4 separate regions of the Homo sapiens genome follow, and all the other regions are linked to region 1. Evidence: promoter capture Hi-C in 16 types of primary human blood cells and fetal thymus (Javierre and others, 2016). All regions are on one chromosome and are shown on one strand. Each heading gives the region's core, a stretch centred on a gene start or on the middle of the fragment in contact. The rest is flanking DNA. Distances are from core to core; before and after follow the strand shown. Region 1 holds the start of HS2ST1 (heparan sulfate 2-O-sulfotransferase 1). Region 2 overlaps LRRC40 (leucine rich repeat containing 40). Region 3 holds the start of SERBP1 (SERPINE1 mRNA binding protein 1). Region 4 holds the start of AGL (amylo-alpha-1,6-glucosidase and 4-alpha-glucanotransferase).

Evidence for each region. Contacts are between HindIII fragments. The CHiCAGO score rates a contact against its expected background, and 5 or more counts as called.
Region 2: a fragment that was not itself captured here is called in contact with the fragment with the promoter of HS2ST1 in region 1 in 3 of 17 cell types (non-activated CD4 T cells, total CD8 T cells and activated CD4 T cells); the score reaches 12.8 in non-activated CD4 T cells.
Region 3: a contact is called between a fragment that was not itself captured here and the fragment with the promoter of HS2ST1 in region 1, in 1 of 17 cell types (non-activated CD4 T cells). The highest score is 8.2, in non-activated CD4 T cells.
Region 4: the fragment with the promoter of AGL here is called in contact with the fragment with the promoter of HS2ST1 in region 1 in 1 of 17 cell types (non-activated CD4 T cells); the score reaches 8.2 in non-activated CD4 T cells.

The regions. Positions count from the first base shown.
Region 1 is chr1:86,912,553-86,915,884 of GRCh38, reverse strand. HS2ST1 (heparan sulfate 2-O-sulfotransferase 1) reads right to left here and starts at 1,250. Exons shown (of 7, transcript NM_012262.4): 1 at 725-1,250. The coding sequence starts at 848. It overlaps SELENOF (selenoprotein F), which reads left to right and starts at 1,759. Exons shown (of 5, transcript NM_004261.5): 1 at 1,759-1,857. The coding sequence starts at 1,774. RefSeq lists enhancers at 1,510-1,629, 1,680-1,839, 1,233-1,847, 1,950-1,999, 1,848-2,462. The HindIII fragment of the contact is 1,083 bases long and covers 549-1,631 here.
Region 2 is chr1:70,196,732-70,199,855 of GRCh38, reverse strand. The region is part of intron 1 of LRRC40 (leucine rich repeat containing 40); the gene reads left to right. Among named protein-coding and RNA genes, the nearest start is that of LRRC40, 7.3 kb to the left of the region's middle. The HindIII fragment of the contact is 4,461 bases long and covers 1-3,124 here.
Region 3 is chr1:67,427,560-67,430,963 of GRCh38, reverse strand. SERBP1 (SERPINE1 mRNA binding protein 1) reads left to right here and starts at 562. Exons shown (of 8, transcript NM_001018069.2): 1 at 562-976. The coding sequence starts at 664. RefSeq lists enhancers at 1-90, 121-200, 411-680, 118-753, 1,389-2,025. The HindIII fragment of the contact is 1,041 bases long and covers 1,352-2,392 here.
Region 4 is chr1:99,848,213-99,851,679 of GRCh38, reverse strand. AGL (amylo-alpha-1,6-glucosidase and 4-alpha-glucanotransferase) reads right to left here and starts at 1,319. Exons shown (of 34, transcript NM_000642.3): 1 at 1,265-1,319; 2 at 556-705. The coding sequence starts at 637. RefSeq lists enhancers at 225-1,198, 1,849-1,998, 1,199-2,173 and a silencer at 1,349-1,668. The HindIII fragment of the contact is 4,640 bases long and covers 1-3,467 here.

The sequences.
Region 1 (3,332 bases), core at 1-2,500:
GTGAAGCAACATACATAGGCATCCCTATTCTCAAGCCCCAATTCATCAGTTTAGCGCCACTAAAGAAGAATTTAAATCTCCGGACCCTCATTTCCGTACTCCGATGAAGCTTTGCACTCGCGTTCCCGCACTACCCGGCCAGCCTCCCTCAGCTGGCAATTACAAGGTCCTTTGCTGCCCGGAGCACAAGAGTGCAACTCGCTACAGTGTTCACATGTTGCTCTCCGTCATCCCAGCATCTCCTCCCATTTCTGCGCACCTATCCCTTCATGAGCCCCCAAAAGAATTCGTATCCAGATGCCCATAGCTCAAATTAGAATACCCCTCATCTGACATTGCCAGGGCTTCCTGTACGACTTCCAAGAGAACACGCGATGCTAAGCGCTTCTGTCTCCGGAGACCAGCAACACACGCTCCCCACTGAGTTCGGTCTTCTCTCTCGCTCTCTCTCCGCGGAATGCCTACTTCGGGGCTACCCTTTGGCTAGGGAAGCCCAACCTTGCAACCTCTGCCCCGTGACCTCGCGAGCCCAGCACGCCGCTCAAGCTTAATTCAACCCATTCTTGGAGCTCGTGCTCTCGCTGCCCCTTGTTCCCGGTTCTCTTTGAAACCGCTTTCAGCCCCCGAGCCAGACCCCAGGTTAGATGAACGCCCACTTGCTCCGGCGGCAGCGCCTCCTCGGCCCCTTCCACAGCACTCAGCCCGGGGCAGTTCAGTTCCTCACCTAGCTTCGAGCGGGACTCCTCCAGTTTCTGGATCTGGTTTTCCAAGAAGAGCATCGCCACCGCGAAGGCCACCACCGCCAGCAGCTGCAACTTGGGCGGCATCATAATCCTGAGGAGCCCCATGAAACCCGCTGCTCGGGATCAAGACATACCGCGGGGGGCGGGGAGCGGGACCCCGGAGGCGAGAGAGACGCCGGGAGGAGCCCGCCGAGCCGGGAGCGAGGCAAAGAGAGAGCGACAGCGAGAGAACCACCGCAGCGACCCCCCTTCTCGCCTCTCCAGTCCCCCTCCCCCAGGCGCTATCACCAACGCCGCTGGTGTCCGCTTCTCCTCAGCCGACTAAACGGCCGCCCCCTCCAAAAGCCCGCGCAGCAAACAGCGCGAAGCGGCTGCCGGGCTCTCGCCTCCCTCTACTGCCTCAGTCCCCGACCCCCGCGCCCGCCTGCTTGCCCGCCTCCCTCTCTTCCTTCCTTCCCTCCCTCCTTTGCTCGCGGCCGCGCGCCCCTCCACCGGCGCTGCGGCTGCGCCGCCCTCATCCCCGCCCCCGCCCATCCCCCTCCGCCACCACGCGCACGCATCCGCGTACGCTGCTCGGCAACCAGAAGCCCCGCCCCTCCCCCCGTTCGGGTCCGCTTATTGGACGGAAGAGCCCCTGCGCTTCGCTCTTGGTTCGGTTTACGGTTGGTTTCCTCTGCCACAGAGCTCAATCAAGACGACATTCAATTGGGTAAACTTGGAGAAGAAGGCGGGGCTAAAACTGGCGAAGGCGTGGCTTCTTGGCTGCTTGACGAAGTGTCGTGAATAAAAGAAAGGAGACCGCAGAAGTAAAGAAGTGGGGAGTTTAGGCAAGTGCCTGATTTGGGTAATCGAAAGCACCCAGTGATTGTATTTGATGACTTTTAAGCTTTCATATGCCGTTATTTAATACCTGTCACTTCCAAATGAGAGATGTAAGGGCAACGGCCGTTAGCGTTCTGTTTTGGATCAGGCTCTGGAGTGGACGCCCCTAGCTTAGGGGTCCTTCTAGGCAGCCAGAAACCTGCGGAAAATGGTAGCGATGGCGGCTGGGCCGAGTGGGTGTCTGGTGCCGGCGTTTGGGCTACGGTTGTTGTTGGCGACTGTGCTTCAAGCGGTGAGTGTAGATCACCTTCGCAGCTGCCACAGGGAGAGTAGGAGTGATTGCAGCTGAGAAAGACGCAACATTCGGTCCTGGTTGAAAAGGGTGGGGAGGACTGCGCTTCCTTAATGACTGCTGCGGCCAGAATGCAACGTGGCTTAATTTCTCGGTTGATCCTTCTCCTTCCCCGCCTTGGGTTTCTAGCAGCAGTTTTCTCTTGATTTCAGATTGTCTTGGGTACGTAGCTTCTCTTATACGGCTCTTGCTAAAAACAATCTGTAAACCACACCAGGTGGGAGGGGGGAATAATAAAGCTTGGCAAGAAGTGGAGGTTGTTTTTAAATGGACAGAAATGCAAGAGACTCATGACGAGACTTCCAACTCTTAGAGGCAAGTCTTCAAGTCGTTGGTCCAGGCGAACAGTTTGTGTTTACCTCTCTCGCGCGCGTGCTCTCTCATTTTCACTACTTCTGTTAGTCTCTTAACTTCCGTTCTCCTCTGCTATTCATATACGGCTGGCTGCGCTTGAGTGCGATTTGTGCTTTTAAACAATGTTGTTGGAGTAAAAGGAGTTATCTATACCAAAGTATAATTCATTTTTGAAGTTAGTTTTTTAAATGATGTTCGTTGTCTTCTTTAAGGCAGCGTTTTTTATTTCATTTTTCTCTATTGGCAGAATAGATGGGTGACCTTTGAATGGGAAAAGTGTACTTTTAACTTATTTCTTCTCATATCCATGTTCTGCTGTGTGAATAGTAAAATTTTAGGCACAGTGCTGAAAGCTTTTACGTTTTTTTATCCTAGCTTAATTCTTCGGGTAGTCTCTAATAAGGAGACCTGGTTTAATTTACTTATCCAAGGTTGAGGGTGTTAAGGGACTACACCGGAGTCCTCTATGAACACCTGTACTTACCTTTCTCAAAGAGCTTGAAAGCATCCTGGCTGTTTGCTTTGGCTACTTTAACCAAAAGGTAGATTCTTAACTTCTGTAATTAACATTCCAATTATCTTGTTATTCAGGCATTTGGTGCTAGGAATTACTGGATCACCTCTCCCTAAACTTTCTACTGTTTAAGGGTTTTTGCACATCTTTAGGTCATTCGAGATAACATTTCAGGTTGTCTTTTTTTGATCTCCCTCTGTCTTTGACTGTCAGTTGTCTATAGCTGTGTAACCGCCCTAAAACCTAGTAGCTTAAAACAGCAATGATTTCTCATAATTCTGGGTCAGTGGAGTAGAACTACTCCACCTATGTTGGTTTTCCCCTGGCCTCATTTATGCTTTTTGTTGACCTAGTAGGTCAGCTAAACCGAAAGGTTCCAGGATTACCACTGTTTATAGTTGGTGCTGTCAGCTCGAGGACTTGGTTCTGTTCCGTGTGACCTCTCATCCTCCAGTCGGCTAGACCAACTTCTTTTCATGGCACTCTCAGGGCAGCACTCCAAAAGAGCAAAAGCTACAATGCCTTCTAAAGCCTTGCCTTGGAAATC
Region 2 (3,124 bases), core at 239-2,738, about 17 Mb after region 1:
CTTAAATAATTCAGGGGTTGTGGGGCTGACTCCCTTGTGCAGTCAAAAATCCATGTATAACTTTTGACTCCCCCAAAACTTAACTACTAATAGCTTACTGTTGACTAGAAGCCTTACTGATAACATAAACAGTCAATTAACATATATTTGTATATTATATGTATTATATACTACGTTCTTACAATAGTAAGCTAGAGAAAAGAAAATGTTATTAAGAAAATCATAAGGAAGAGAAAATATATTTACTATTCATCAAGTGGAGTGGATCATCATAAAGGTCTTCATTCTCATCTTCACATTGAGTAGGCTGAGGAGGAGGAGGAAAAGGAGGGGATGGTCTTGCTTTCTCACGGGTGGCAGAGGCAGCAGAAAATCCATATATAAGTGAACCTGTGCAATTCAAACCCATATTGTGCGAGGATAAACTGTACTTTGTTTTTGTAGGCTCTAGTTCTTTTTTGAAAAATACCATTTATTATTTTCGTATTCATAAAAGCAGGTCTGCTGTAGAAAGATTAGAATCTATAGAGAAAAGCATAAAAAGTGAAGAAGCCAACCAGAGTTAGTCACTGTTAATGTTGTGGAGGTTTTTCTTCTAATACTGTGTGTGTGTGTGTGTGTGTGTGTGTGTGTGTGTGTGAGACTATGTATAATTTGACTGCTATTTTTTATTTTTTTATCTAATTTAGTTTATTTATTGATTGAGACAGGATCTCACTCTGTTGCCCAGGCTGGAATGCAGTGGTGAGATCACGGCTCACTGCAGCCTTGACTTCCTTATCTCAAAAGTGATTTTCCCACCTCAGCTCCCTGAGTGTCTGAGACTACAGGGATGTGCCACCATGCCTGGCCAATTTTTATATTTTTTGTAGAGATGAGGTCTTGCTATGTTACCCAGGCTGGTCTTGATCTCCTGAGCTCAAGCGACCTGTCCAACTCACCCTCCCAAAGTGCTGGGATTACAGGCATGAACTGTTGTGCCTGGCCCTATTTTTTATTTTTAACAAATTTAGAATTGTACTGACTCCTGTTTTTCTGGCTTCTATTTGTACATTTTCCTTGTCACTTGAAAAATCTTATTATTTTTAGTGGCTGTATAATAGTCCATCTTATGACTACTATTAATTAATATGTATTCATATTTAAACATTCAAATTTTGTTCGCAATTTTTAAGTAATCATTCTGAGTGTCAGTTCTATAACTTATTTAGAAAGATATTCTCAAATAGGAATAATTGTTAATAACCAACTTCAAAGAAAAATACTGTACATGTAAGTGACAGCTCTTTTTATGAGCAGCAACATGAGAATATGTTGTCAGTTTGGTTCAATATTGCAGCTCTTTTTCGTCGGACTAGATAAAATGAAGATGGAGTTGGAGGTGTTGATCGTTGCTTTCCAGTTGCATGACCATGGTAGAACAGTAGTGCAAGAATGTTATTGGATGATTATCTAAAACTGAGGAAAAATAAAAGGTGCCAGAGTTTGGAACAAAAGAATACTGTAAATTCTAATGGAAACTGCACTGTTGATCTGAAAGGCAAATTAAGAGGATAATTCATTAAATAAGCCAGTTAAATTAGCTTGGAAACCAATTATTTGAAAGGGAAATATGGGTGTAAGGCTATCCTGCCTTATCTTGAAGAGAGCAGTTTGGTTAGCTTTTATTTGTGTAGTTAAGTAATTTGGTCTAGGGCACCTAATCATGAAGAAAACCTACTATTTTAGGGTAATGAGAATTTGCCCTATTCAATATGTATAGTTTGTTGGGACAGAATAAAAAGTGTGACACGGGGTCAGGTGCTGTGGCTCACACCTTTAATACCAACACTTTGGGAGGTGGAAGCAGGCGGATCACTTGAGCCTGGGAGTTCAAGACCAGTCTGGGCAACAAGGCAAAACTTCGTCTCTACTAAAAATACAAAAATTTGTATTTTTAGTAGAGATGGGGTTTTACCATGTTGGTCAGGCTGGTCTCAAACTCCTGACCTCAGGTGATCCACCTGCCTTGACCTCTCAAAGTGCTGGGATTACAGGCATGAGCCACTGCACCCAGCCACATTCTTTTATCCTTCTGTGCAAACACCATTTTAAGCATGTTTTTTATTTCTTCTCTGTCTCTTTATCCACCCATATCATATAAATGTCCTCCCCAAACTAGATAGTTCTCTGTGATCAACCCATTTGTGAGTCCTCATTTCTATATTTAGCTGTTACCAGTGGAAAAAAGAGTAAGACAGTTTGCTTAAAAAAAAAAAAAAAGCCGGGGGTTGGGGGGGCCAGGTGTGATTGCCCATGATTATAATCCCAGCACTTTGGGAGGCCAAGGTGGGAGGATCACTTGAGACCAGGAGTTTGAGACCAATCTGGGCAACATAATGAGACCCTGTCTCTACAAAAAATAAGCTGGATGTGGTGGCACATGCCTGTAGTCCTCATAGTTCTAGCTACTTGGAAGACGGAGGCAGGAGGATCTCCTGAAGCCATGAGTTCGAGGCTGCAGTGAGTTATGATCACACCACTGTACTCCAGCCTGGGTGACAGGCTCTCAAAAAAAAATAAAATAAAATAAAAAAATACATCTATACATCTTCCTCCCCCCCGCCGCCCCCCAGTATCTATAAGGACCATGTTGTCCATTGTGGAAGCCTGTACTCATGTTGGCTTTTTAACTTTTAAATAATCAAAATTAAATAAAATTAAAAATCAAGTTCATCAGTTACTTTAACCACATTGCAAGTGCCCAGTAGCCATATGTGGCTAGTAGCTATCCTATTGAATAGTGCCAACGTAGGGCATTTACGTCATTGTAGAAAGTTCTGTTGAGCCATGCTGCTTAAGGATATTGTATCTACCCTGTGATATATGTTATATGTGTATATTTTTCCGATAGAATTGCCTTGATGTGTTACATCACCTATATTTTAAAATTATTCTTTTTTGGGGTTAACTTTATTGAAGTATCATTTACAAAGAGTATGTTGCATCCATTTTAAGTGTACAGTTTAATGACTTTTGACAAATATATACCATCATGTAACCAGTACTACAATCAAGATATAGAACATTTCCAACATCTTGAAAAGTTTACTTGTGCCCCTTTGCTGTCAATCCTGCTATTGGC
Region 3 (3,404 bases), core at 623-3,122, about 19 Mb after region 1:
AGAAGAGCCTCGATTCACCGTGGAGGCTGACGGAGGGCCACTCCAGCAACTGAGCAGCTCGGACTTGGCACAGGCAGGGTCCAGCCTACCCGCGGCCGGCGCGGCGCCTCAGCAACACCCCCTCCCCCGGAAGTTTGTGCGTCTCAGATGTAAGGTCTGGGAGTCACCTTGACCCCCCTGGAGCGGTGGGGAAAGTTAGCCCTGAGCCCGAGGGGGCGTGAGTGAAACCAAAGAGCACTTTCGCGAGTCAGTTACGCCGTCACGGTTTTTTGGTTTCAAGGTAGCTGAAGACCTAGAGAGTTTAAGGGTGGCCAGAGCAGGTGGCAGGACTCCGCCCACCACCACGCTTCCCTTCCTTCAGCCCGCACGCTTCACTCCCCTCATGGGGTCTCGCCTCTCAGGCGCGCGCGAAGAGTTGTCGCGCGGTGCGTCCTGGGAATTGTAGTCCCGACGCGGAGAGTCGCCTCAGGAGAAATGACTCTGGCCTACATACCCCACAGTGCCTTGCGGCGCAGGCCGCTCCCGGATGTGTGCCTGGCGCCGGAAGAGAAGACGGCCCCCCTCTCTCGGCCCGGCCATCTTGTGGGAAGAGCTGAAGCAGGCGCTCTTGGCTCGGCGCGGCCCGCTGCAATCCGTGGAGGAACGCGCCGCCGAGCCACCATCATGCCTGGGCACTTACAGGAAGGCTTCGGCTGCGTGGTCACCAACCGATTCGACCAGTTATTTGACGACGAATCGGACCCCTTCGAGGTGCTGAAGGCAGCAGAGAACAAGAAAAAAGAAGCCGGCGGGGGCGGCGTTGGGGGCCCTGGGGCCAAGAGCGCAGCTCAGGCCGCGGCCCAGACCAACTCCAACGCGGCAGGCAAACAGCTGCGCAAGGAGTCCCAGAAAGACCGCAAGAACCCGCTGCCCCCCAGCGTTGGCGTGGTTGACAAGAAAGAGGAGACGCAGCCGCCCGTGGCGCTTAAGAAAGAAGGTAAAGCAGGGGCAGAATGTGGGGGAGACTGGGATGGAGGGAAGGAGCGAGGGGGCTGCCGGCTGCCACTTGTTTCTGGAGCTCCGAGGGTCCGCGGGAGACTTTGCCGCCTATATCCTCACGTTTCTTCACGCGACAAAAGTCCGGTCCTGCGAAGGTGCCAGGAGCGTGGTAGCCCCAAGTTCAAGCCACCGCCGGCGAGGTTCTCGGAGCCATCCCCTTCCCGCCTCAGGTTGTGAGCAGAGGAGCGTGGTCGGAGATGAGCTGCTCCTCGAGCGCGCTCGAGGTCCTGGGAGGCTGTTGCCTTCCCGCCGGATTCCTTGGCGGGTGAGCGCATGGACTGAGGTGCGGGGAAGCCGGCCCCTCACCGAAGCTTTCCGTAGTTACGGAGGAGCTTGGGGGTCCATCGCTGCTTACTGCGCAGAGCTGCTCCTTTGAGGTGCTGTTGTTTCAGGCTCCTGTCCTGCCGTCTTGTCCCACGACGGCGCGGAGTATCCCCGCTGAAAAGCAGGGGGTCGTTCCAGGCCATCAGACGTGTGGAGTAAGCTGCAGGTTGGGGTGCCGCATGTCCTTTATTTGTTTCTCTTCCACCTCTCAACTGTTAGGACTTTCTCATAACTTGCTGGGGTGAGTTGAGCCGTTGGGAAATGGAGGAGTTTGGCCACACTCGATTAACCAGGAGCGGGAATTATGAATGAAGACTGGTGATTGCAGGACATCCCGAGGAACGTCCTCGAGTCACGATCCTCTCTCTCGACTCCCCAAACTGAATCTTTCACGTGGTGGGGTCTGGGCCTCGTGGGTGAAGTGAGTGCAGAGGCTGTCACAGCGTTAGTCGCAGCAGAGCTCTTTAGAGTTCGCAGTTTTTTTTTTCCACCACATGTGCGTGAAGCATGGTCAGAGTTTCACTGGCGGTTAATAGTTGTTTCTAGGGCACTGTGAGTTTCACAGGATTGTCTTGATTTTTGCATTCGCTTTACCAGTTTGTTGCGGATGAAAAAAAAGAGCAAGCAGTTTGGAGATAAGAACGTGCATGATCAATAGCAAGCAGGTGTTGGACCTAAGGTCTGAATCTTTAAAGCTGCATTTATATGTTGAAAGTTGAAATTACCCCTTCCTGCCACGTGCTTCTCTGAAAGGAGTTGTTTCTCTTTAGCTTTAGTTGAATTCTGTAACAGTGAACTAATTTTAAAAATCAAAACAATTTTCTCGTGGTAGGATTTGTTTTAGGAGGGTTTTTTTTTTTTTTTTTGAGGACTTTTGTGAGGCTCGGAATGAAGAACCTCGGTCCTAGGTGGTGAATAAAAGAAAATAATTAATTCTTGTGGTAAAATTATAGGTTGAGGAAAAATACAGTTGGAGTATTAGAAAGCATGTATATCACTTAGGCCAAGTATCTCTTCAGCCAGTTAAGCTTTATGGCAATCTAGCACAATTAAATAAATCATTTAATTCGTGTGTTAAGTAACGCTGACTTGTGTAATTATTTAAACTATGCTTAAGCTTAAGAAAGTACACGAAAAAGTTGAATCTGACGAATAATGTGTACCAGGTAGATGTGTTCACTCATTTTGAATGTTCAAAACATGAAGCATGGTTTAAATGCCTGAGTTATTTTGATCATGAAGCCCATCTATGAAATAAGCTCTTACCTGAAAAGTAGTATTTTAAGTTAACAAATGTGGGGAATGATTTCATGAAGTTAGAACCAAGACTTAGGTTCACCGTTCAATGAGTCTTTCCATGGGAAAACTATTCCATGTTAGCAATCAGCATTTTCCTTAGGTCAGTATTTCAGAGCACTACTGTTAAGTTGCATAAAATACAAGCATGTAAAATACAGGAAAAGTGTTGAATGGACAATACCCGTTTTGAGATTCTACTGTCCTGATTACTGGGAATAAATCTGTAAACAAAGTCGCTGCATGTAGTAGGAAGGTTAACCTGATTGTGTTCTGTGATTTTGATAACACATTGTGACATAATACTTGACATACTTTAGACAGATATTTAATGTTTATGTTTTATGAATTAATTTTGTACATTCTCTTGCCCATTTGAAGAACTTGAGAATTGACAGCAGAATGTCATTGAGAGTGTAGACCAGGGATTTTCTAAAAAAGAATGAATGCCTTGAAACTAGTGCAGTTAGTGAGCTTGCAAGTTATAGATAAGTATATCAAAAGAAGCTTGCATTTTTAAATGTCAGTCTTTTTCATTAGGTAGGTTTAATACGTTTTTAAGATTCTGTAAACTTGATATTGGGTGGGGACGCCAACTATTGTTCACTTGGGTGTGTTTGGCTTGGATATTATTGCAAGGACTGGTTCCATAACTCCACCCCAGTGCACTTTATTACTGATGACATTTATTTAAATACCTTGGTGTAAGGTCTAATATTTGTAGTCTATCTTGAGTATTTACAGGG
Region 4 (3,467 bases), core at 70-2,569, about 13 Mb before region 1:
AGTTCAACATAACCAGATGAGTTATTGCACTTTTTATTTGCTAAGAAAATATTTTCAGCTTTTACCTACTCCACATTTGAGAAGTTTTTGATATACATAAACAATAGTTTACTATACTTTTTGCTGCAATCTATTTTGTCAATTCAAAGGTTCAACAAAGGAAAAGAGACAGTTATACAAAGGCAAAACTACATGCATACCCAAAGCAAAATTACATATGAAGTAATTTACCAAGTTTTAATAGTAAATGTTATTAGAAATAATATGGGCAATCTTCTGATCATATATTTAACTTCAATCTTAAGTGGGAATTAGTACGCAGAGAAAAGAGAACTATTTTATCCTTATCCTAACACGAGGGATATAAAATATTTTTAATTCAAATCAACATTAATTAGTGATATATGGAGAACACAGCACCATCTTTGCACAAATCAAGTTTTAGACCCTTGGAAATAATATTTATCTTAGAGCTTTAAAACATTTAACAGGACTGCCAATGAATTAAAAGTTTAAAAGACGCAAATGAGCAAATCAAAACAACTTGCTACTGACCTTGTTCAAGTCTGAAGAGGGTCTTTTCCAGTTTCTCCATTTCGTTCAGAAGTAAAATTCGAATCTGTTTACTGTGTCCCATTTTGGCTTCTAGAGGATTTGAAATCTTTCATAAGAATTAAAAGAACTCCACAGTCGAATGAGTTACCCCTATGAAACAAAAAGGAGTTAAAATATCGAAAATAACTATTGCCTTAAACTCTCCAGAGCTGACAGCGGCACTTACATGTTCGAAGTGTGTTTTATGCCTAGCAGAGCAATGAAAGAGAATGAATCTTATAACTATTAAGATTCGAGAAGGCAAATTAATAGTTGTTTCCTGCCTTTGAGCACAACGAATAAGACCGAAATAAAAATGCTGTATTACAGATTCTTACAATTAAAAAATTAAAAACCTAGACCATTCTCAGAGAAAAGCAATACACTTAGGAAAGCCTGAAGTCAGGGGGACATTCCCAGCCCCAAGCCACAGGGCTCTGGAGACTCCGAATGGCACTTCTGCTTACAAGAGATTAGTCTGCTCAAAGATAACAGGTGGGCAATCTCCCCATTCCCAAATTCGGGTCGCCAGCCACCAATGGGGAGATGAGAACAGAGGGAAGCAGTTGTTGCCTCTGGAATAGCTGCCGTAGACAGAAGATGTACAGAGCGAGCTATAGATAGAAAGAATGCGTTTCCCCGCGAGGCCAGCGGCATTCCTAGCACTTACGCCGAGGGAGTTATACGTGCGGCTTCTGGGGCACTGCAGGACCCGCGACTCTGGTGCTACGGTCGGGGGGAGGGGACGGGGAGAAACAGAAGGGGAAGGGCTGGCTGCCCAGCCTCGCACAGAAGCCGCAGCCCAAGGAGGGCCGGGCGCCGTGAAGGGCAAAGGGAGGGGCGGCGAGCGACCGGGGCAGCGCCGAGGCAGCTGGGTGAGAAGCAGGCAGAGTCTCAGCGACTTCGCCTCGCGCGGGTTCCTGGGCGCACCCGGTACCCAACCTGGCCGTGCGCGCACTCGCCCCAGGTGGGAGCGGACCGTACCTCTGGCCCACTTCCGGGAGGCTCGACCCGCCCGCCCCGACCGCTAGTCTCGCGAGAGCGTGGGCACCGCACCGTCTCAGTCGGCTCCGGGCCGGGGGACCTGGAGCCTGCTGCGGCTGAGGCCGGGAGCGGCGCTTTCTCCTTGCCCTGGGGAAGGTGCACCGGCCAAGGCGCGGCCTTCCTTTAACAGCCTGCGAGCTCACAGTTGCACATTAAAATCCCGCGGTACCGGCTGCGAGCTAGGTTGAGCTGCACAGTAGGATCTTTTGCTGGGAAGGGCTGAATGGTGAGGGGCAAACGACCTGGCTTCTGGTGTCTTTTGTGCCACCACGTGTTTTGTTTCTTTGTTTTGATAATTTTTACTTGGCCTAAGTTCTCAGAGTCCTGATTTCTAAGTGTCTAAAATAAGGGGCCTGGCTACAGCCTTGACATTCCAGCCAACACGTGTCCATCACTTCTAGTGCTAACAGACAGGACACATGTTCCTGAATGCAGACCCAGTAGGTAAGGTGTGGCCAGTCTGCAAACCATCGAGAGTGCAAACACCACTGATACTTAACGGTGTCCGGGTGTACCTCATGTACACTAGATAGACCCGGAGATCGTCTGAGATTAAGCTGCACTTATGTTAGGCCAGTAACTCAGAACTTTTTGCAGATGCTTAAGGAGATTTAATGCCTGAGGGTAAAGGAAAACCCATCTTCCAGGGCTTTTGGAGGGCTCCTAATGGTTATGAGAAAATGGACAGAAGATTTGGTTAACTAAGACTTGTGGCGTGTGGAGAAGATTCTTGCATTCTTTATTGTGGAATGACTGTAGGTCCAAAGAGGATATAAGTTAAAAAAAAAAACCCCATACTGAAGTATTTGTTTATTTCTGTAGATTTCTGAGAATGGCTAGTTGCAAATGGTCCGTAACTGACTTTGGGAACCCACAGCTCATTTTCTGGCCCCTACTATTTGCCAGGCACATAAGGTGCTGGGAATGCAGCAATAAAACAGTCACTGCCCTCAAGGAACTCCTACATTTTATTGGTGGGAGACAGATAAATTAAATAAATTATACAGGATATAATATATCCTATATAATAAGAAGGATATGTTATATCCTATATATAATAGGAAGGGGGAAGTGTGGAAGAGTAAGCAGAGAGAGGTTTGCATTTCTAAATATAACGTTCAGTAAAGTGATGCCAAACTGCGAGAAAGAAGAAGTCTAAGGTAGAGGGTTACATGTAGAGGTATAGGAAGTACAAAGGCCATGAGGCAGGAGCATACTTGGTGAACCGAAGAAGATCACCATAGCTGAGTGAAGAAGAGAGTGGTAAGAGATTAGGACAGACAGATGGGGCAGGAGAAGGGATCAGGAGCACAGACGGGTGACCAGATCTTTTAAGGCTTTGTAGGCCATTGCAAGGACTTGGGCTTTTAAACTTTGGAAAAAAAGCCATGGAGATTTTGAACAGAGGAGTGACATAATCTGATTGACCTTTTAAAAGGATCGCTCCGCAACTTTATGGGAAATAGTTGAATAAACTGTAGAGTGTAGCAAGGAAGGAAGCAAGGAGACCAGTTAGAAAGCTATTTTAGTTATTCAAGCAAGAGAAAGTGACTTGTGTGTGTTTTCTCTGTGTCGGGGGGTTGGGGGTGATGGGGGGGAGGTGGTATAGCAGGTGGTGTAGTTGCTGAATTCTGGACTATTTTGAAGATAGAACCTACAGGATTGGTGGAGAAAGGAGTCAAGGATGACTCCAAGGTTTTTGGCCTGAATGAGCAGAAAGCACTGTCCAATAGAAATATTAAGTGCCACATAGGTCATTTAAAATTTTCAAGTAGCCACATTAAAAAAACTTTTTTAAATACAAAAATTAGCCAGGCATGGTGGCACAT